Linked DNA regions of Homo sapiens: region 1 is linked to region 2. The links are contacts of gene promoters, found by promoter capture Hi-C in blood cells and fetal thymus (Javierre and others, 2016). All regions are on one chromosome and are shown on one strand. Each heading gives the region's core, a stretch centred on a gene start or on the middle of the fragment in contact. The rest is flanking DNA. Distances are from core to core; before and after follow the strand shown. Region 1 overlaps PHF2 (PHD finger protein 2). Region 2 holds the start of BARX1 (BARX homeobox 1).

Region 1 (3,271 bases), core at 644-3,143, 310 kb after region 2:
AGAGATCACCAGAACTGAGGATAATAGAACAACCGAAAAGAGATTTGAAAATAAATATACTCAACACATTCAGAAGGAAATCAAGAGGATGCGGCAAGGCACAGGGATGTATTAAAAAAGAAAAAAGACCAGGCAATATTGAAAAGGAAATTTATAGAAATTTTAGAAATAAAAAATACAATGATCAAAATTTTTTAAACTCAATGGATGCACTAAACAGTAGATGGCTGAAAAAATAGTAAATTTGAAGAAAAATTTTTAAATGATACAGAGAATACAGAAGAAATGCTACTAAAAGAGAAAACAGAGTATTTTTCAGAATTGACATGTGACTCTCCAAATTAAAGAGGCTTACTGGGTTCTAAGCAGAATAAACAAAAACAAATGTACATCTAGAGGCAATATCGTACACTCATGTACTGAGTACATCAAACAATATAAAGAAACAGCAACTAGACTAACAACAGATATCTCATTAGCAAGAGATGTCAAAAGACAATAAAATACCTTTCAAAGAATTAAAGAAAAACAGCTTTCACTCTAGAACTTTAGATCCATTTTAGAATATTAGAATCATGTAAGAATAAAGACAGTCATTGTCAGACAAGACAGTATGTATTTTCATAAGCCTTTGCTGAAATAACTAAAAGATATAATTCTATAAGAAGGAAATCAAACTTAGAAGAAAGGTGTGGGATTCAAGAAACAATGGAAAACTAATCTACAGATTCCACATAATCCCTATCAAAATCCCAGCTGACTTCTTTGCAGAAATTGACAAACTAAACTTGGAATGCTGAATAAAAATGCAAAGCACTCAGATGACCAAAACAGTCTTTTAAAAGAACAATGCTGGAAGACCCTTCCCAACCTCAAAATTCAATACGAAGCTCCTACAGTCAAGACGGTGGTACTGTCATAAGAAAAGATATACAGAGGAATGGAATACACTTAAGTGCCCAGAAATAAATCCTTAACACCCACAATCAACTGCTTTTCAAGGAGAGTGCCAAAACAGTTCAATGGGGAGAGGCCAGTCTTTTCAATAAATGTTGCTAGGAAAAGTTGATATCCATATGCAAAAGAATAAAGTTCTTCCTACCTCAGATAGTATACAAAAATTCAATCAAAATGAGTCAAAGACCTAAATATAAAAGCTTAAACTATGAAACTCACAGAAGAAAACAAAGGCATAAATCTTCAAGATCTTGGATTAGGCAATGATTTATCAGCAGTGATACCAAAAGCACAAGCAATAAAAGGAAAAAAGAGGTAAGTTAGACTTCACTAAAATTAAAAACTTTTGTGCTTCAAATGACGCTGTCAAGAAACTACAAAGACAACACAGAATGGCAGAAAGTGTCTGGTAAGGACAAGTATCTAGAATATGTAAAGAATTCTTACAACTCAAAAATAAAACAACAGATAACCCAATGAATTTAAGGTGGCTAAAATAATGTGGAATTGTTCTTCTGGTTTCAGCTCCAACATGTGAAGAGTTTGGATGTTGTCACTCCCCTCTTCCCCACAAGAAAAAGGCTGAACAAACAGAAAATCAACAACTTTTCTTATATTCATCAGAGAATTGAGCTCATAGGGCAAACAACCAACCACCCAAAATCTGAGGAGACAGAAAATCATAGCTGAGATCGCCTTACCTGAAGCGGAAGCTGCTGGAGGCAGTGACCTGTAGGAACACTTAAGTGATAACTTTTGTCAAACTGCCAAAAGTTAAGTGTAGATCAGTTTAAGAGTTAAAAACTCCTTAATCCGGCAGAAGGATGGAAATAGAATCTATTTTTAAATACATCCAGAGTGTTGTTCTCCATAACAAAAGTCTGCTCCCCTGTATCAGACTCTACTGGACATGGGGAAAGCATTTGGCGACCTCCAGCCCCCACTAACCTTCCTGTCTCAGATAAGGAGAGAAAAATTAAAAAGGCTGAGAAATGCTCCTAATGATCACAGCCCAGAGACTCTACAAAACTGAGATTTAATCCTGAAATTATAGAACACTTCCCCTCCCCAAAACCTACCACCATACATCAGTATAATAATAGCTGACTATAACTGAGAGAGCTGCAGACACAGACTCTGTTTAACATGAAATTCTTAGGAAAACCCAAAGAAACCAGGAGAAAAACAAACAAACAAACTAGAAGAAGCTGACATCTCTGGCACCTAGAGCTATAGCAAATTTAACACAGCCCAGGTCCTACTCAGATTAACATAAAACCTCACACTAAATCCTAATTACCTCAATTCCTATTACACAATACATCGTGTCCAGCTTTCACAAGAAATTTTAAGCCTGCTAAATGGCAAGAAAAACTGTAGTCTGAAGAGACAAAGCAAGCATCCGAAGAAGACTCAGACATAGCACAGATTTCCGAATTATCAGACAGGAAATTTAAAATAACTAGGATTAGTATGTTAGCTACACTAATGGGAAAAGCTGACAACATGTAAGAACATATGGGTAATGTAAACAGAGAAATGGAAATTAAGACAGAGTCAAAAGGAAAGGCTAGAAATTAAAAAACAATAATAAAAGTAGCAAAAATGAAGGATGCCTTTGATGGGCTCATCAGTAGACTAGACATGGCCAAGAAAAGAACCAGTAAGCTTGAAGTTATATCAATAAAAACTTCCAACCTGAAATCCAAGCAGAACAAAGAAGCATGTGGGTGGGGGTCAAGGGGAGGCGCAGAATATCCAAGAAATGTAGAAGAAGAACTACAAACAGCCTAATGTGCATATTGAGAATATAAAAAGGAAGAGAAAATGCAGTAGAATAAATATTTATTTGAATTAATAATGGCTGAGAATTTTCTAAAATTAATGGCAGACATGAAACCAAAGATCCAAAAAGCTTAGACCACATAAAGGAGGATAAATGCCAAAAATTCTGCACCTAGGCATATCATATTTGAACTGCAAAAAAAACCAAAGACCAAGCAACTATCTTGAAAGAAGGCAGATGAGCGAGGTCAACTTCCAGCATGACAATGAAATGCTGAAAATTATTTAAAAAACAATTATTCAGAGCCTCTGGAAATGGTCCCAAGACCAAACAGCAAATGAAGAAACATCTATTTAAGAAAATCTCCAAAAACTCAGTAAGAACAGTCTGTGATATTTGGACCAAGACTGCTCCCTCCATTCACATTCAGAGCTCAGAGGTGGACACTCCACTCCCAAGTGCTGCAGCCAAAAACACAGGCTTCGTCCCCACCGGCTCCCAGCTAGAGAGCTTTCTTCTTGGGAGAGC
Region 2 (3,097 bases), core at 67-2,566:
GTTTTCTCTCCAAACAGACCTAAGGGCTCCCAGGGTGCAGGACCCTCGGAGTGCAGGACCCCCTCACTGAGTTCTCACAGTCTCTCTGGAGCCAAAGGTCAGCATCTCCTCAGGACAGGTAAGGAAACAGGCCCAGAAAGGGTCAGTGGTTTCACCAGTAGTGGCAGGACCAAAGAGAGGAGTTCAGCGTAGGGTAGCTTTGGGGTTGTTCACTCCACGGCTTGGGCTTATACTCTTCTAAGGATGGAAAGAAAGATCTAGAGAAGGTACTGCCAACTTCCTCCACCATGTTGGAGCTTTTGAGGCTCCGCAATGGAGCCAGGTCCCACCAGAGTTTGGTCTTTACACTCTCAGAGCACCCACTGGCCCCCTGGCCCCAACTCCGCCCAGTAACAGTTTCTTGATGCCCCAAAGCTGGGAAAAGGCAAAGCTGCATCCTTCCCTTCTCCTCGAATCCTTTTCCTTTTCTAACTAGGGGGATGTAACCAGCCTACAGTCTTCTGGGGGCTGTCAAGGAGGATGTGTCCATGGATCACTTGAATTTCCAATTCAAGCAAATCTCGGCTGGAGAACATTTTTCTCTCAGGGCAGCCCGGAGAGAAATGAGGCCGTACATGGTAAACTGAGGCAGAGGTGGGAGGGGTGCACAGGTGCCGCTACCGCTCTGCCCCTTGCATCCCTGAACGCTGCCTCACCCTTGCCGGGTTGGCGGTGTTGAGCCCGGGACTGGAGGCTGCTTGAGACCACCTCCTTCCCAGCTGAGGAGCGCGGCCTTTGCCCCTCCTCCTCCCGACCTTTCCGGGGCTACCTAAAAGCCGATCAAGCCGCCGGTTTTCTAGCTGTTCCCATTTCTTTACCGCCCCCTTCCTCTGCCCCGCCTGCCTCTGTGCCCTCCGTCACGTCACAGCCCGCTGGCTCTCACGCCTCTTTTGGTCTCTCTGCGCACATCTCGGTGGCGTCTCTGGTGCCCTCACATCACTGTCTGGAATCTTGTTTGGCCCACGCCGTCTGCCTCTGCCCCTTCTCTCACCTGTGTCGTTTGATCCCTCCGACTCTCGTCTCTGGGGGTCTTGCCTCCCGAACTCTCCGGCTCTCTCCTTCCAGGGCGTGCGCTCCGCTCAGTCTCCCTCGGTCTCGGTCGGCCGGCCTCTTTCACGTGGCCCCCTCCTTTTTGGCCTCCCTTCCGCCTCCCTCCCTTCTGGGTCCCTCCCTCCGGCTCAGCCTAGGGGTTGGGGGCGGCGGCGCGGGGCGGGGCGGGGCGGGGCGGTGACGCGGGGCTGGCCGGGCAAGAGGCGCGGCGGCGTGGGGAGGGGGCGCAGTCCCGGGTTCGACCGGCCGAGCCCCGCGCGCCCCGCCCGCGCCCTGCGCCTCCGCCCGGCCGGCCGGCGGGGGAGGGGGCATGAGCCGGCGCCCGCGCGCCGCCCCGAGCTGCGGGCCGGCCTAGAGCCCCGCGCGGGCCCCGCGCCGGAGCCAAGCCGTCGCCGCCGCCGCCGCCAAACCGCGGGCGCAGCAGTGGGCGCCGCGATGCAGCGGCCGGGGGAGCCGGGCGCCGCGCGCTTCGGCCCGCCCGAGGGCTGCGCGGACCACCGGCCGCACCGCTATCGCAGCTTCATGATTGAGGAGATCCTCACGGAGCCACCCGGGCCCAAGGGCGCCGCGCCCGCAGCCGCCGCTGCCGCGGCGGGCGAGCTGCTGAAGTTCGGCGTGCAGGCGCTGCTGGCGGCGCGGCCCTTCCACAGCCACCTGGGTACGTGTGGCGGCCGCGGGGTCGCGGGCCGGGCTTGGCGGGAGACAGCGAGCTGAACCGCGGGGGCGCCCCGAGCCTCCTCCGGCATCGAAGCAGCCCCGGGAAGCTGCTCTGGGAGCGCAGGTTCTGGGACCGTCTCTCGGAGCCCTCCAGGCGGGAGGCGGAGGGTGCAAGCTCCAGGCCTCACAGAAACCAGGCCTCGTGCCCGCGGGCCGCCCGGGGAGGGTGTTCGCTCTTTCCTTCACTGCTTCCCTTCGGCCTCCAGCCCGGGGACCCCGAGTGAGCATCCCCAGTGCAGGCGCACTGCCAGGCTACGGACTCTCGTGGGTGGAAGCGACCTCAGGCCACGGGCGCCTGGGCTTCGCCGCAGAGGGATGGCCGGGAGTGGCCGCGGCTGCCCAACCCAGGGAAGTCGGACCTCTGGGGAGGAGGCCTGCGCTCCCGAGGGCTGGGTGCTGACGCGGGCCCAAGCCGGCCCGGAGTCCCCGGGAGCTCCAGCGGGCGAGGAACGCGGCCTTGGCCGCAGTGCGGACCTGCTTCGGCCTTGCCTTGGGGCCAGAGGCCTGACTGTGAGCAGCTGCCTGGCTGTCCCTTCTGGTTTCAGGTCGGCTGGGCCTCTGCAGGGCTTGAACGGCCTGCGCAGACCTTTTCAGCTTCTGCCCTTTCTTCTAATTTGGCGGGGCCTGCTCTGCCCTGATGGTGCTGTCTCCATCGCACTCCACCCTCGTCTTGTCTTTCCCTATCTCGCTTTCCAACCGTCTGCCGGTCGGCCTCCCTCGCTTCTCTCATTGGGGTCGGCCTGCCTCCCATCTCCCACCTTTTCCCTACGGGTCCTCTGCCCCACATTTACCTGCGCCTTGCCCTGCCCTTTCCGACTCCAGCCAGGCTAGGACTCGCACCTCAGTGACAGGCCTGTCGGGGAAGGGAGGCTCCTACGCTGTAGCCGGGACCCCAGCCCTTCAAGTCGCCTTCCCTGCACCCCCCCACCTCCTAGTCGGTGCTCCCTAGCCTGGAGACGGCAGGGCCAGCGCGCTCCTTCTAAGTCCAGCTGGGACTCGGCCATTCGGCTACCTTTCGTCTCCATCTGCTCTGTTGCTACTAATTCGTTTGAAGCGGGCACACAATCATTTTAGGACTGAAGAAAATGGAAACATCTGCATGGGGAAGCGTCTGAAAATAGAAAACGTGAACAATAATTTCCAGGTTCTCAGGGTACTTTGGAATTTCCGGGAAGCACCCAACTCCGGCCCAGATGACTCCTGGCCACCGCATGGCTGTTGTGCCACGCACGGAAGAGCAAATGTGCACGCTCCGTGCATGTTCTTTTTCTAACGCAGCAAGGCTGATTTG

What was found. The method cuts DNA at HindIII sites, captures the fragments that hold promoters and counts their contacts. A CHiCAGO score of 5 or more calls a contact.
Region 1: a fragment that was not itself captured here is called in contact with the fragment with the promoter of BARX1 in region 2 in 1 of 17 cell types (M0 macrophages); the score reaches 5.6 in M0 macrophages.

Annotation. Positions count from the first base shown.
Region 1 is chr9:93,639,801-93,643,071 of GRCh38, reverse strand. The region is part of intron 3 of PHF2 (PHD finger protein 2); the gene reads right to left. Among named protein-coding and RNA genes, the nearest start is that of MIR548AU, 47 kb to the right of the region's middle. The HindIII fragment of the contact is 1,468 bases long and covers 1,160-2,627 here.
Region 2 is chr9:93,953,574-93,956,670 of GRCh38, reverse strand. BARX1 (BARX homeobox 1) reads left to right here and starts at 1,316. Exons shown (of 4, transcript NM_021570.4): 1 at 1,316-1,747. The coding sequence starts at 1,525. It overlaps BARX1-DT (BARX1 divergent transcript), which reads right to left and starts at 837. Exons shown (of 2, transcript NR_144455.1): 1 at 1-837. It overlaps LOC124902216 (a long non-coding RNA gene), which reads right to left and starts at 1,145. Exons shown (of 3, transcript XR_007061672.1): 1 at 1,031-1,145. RefSeq lists enhancers at 260-790, 791-1,322, 2,734-3,097. The HindIII fragment of the contact is 28,188 bases long and covers 1-3,097 here.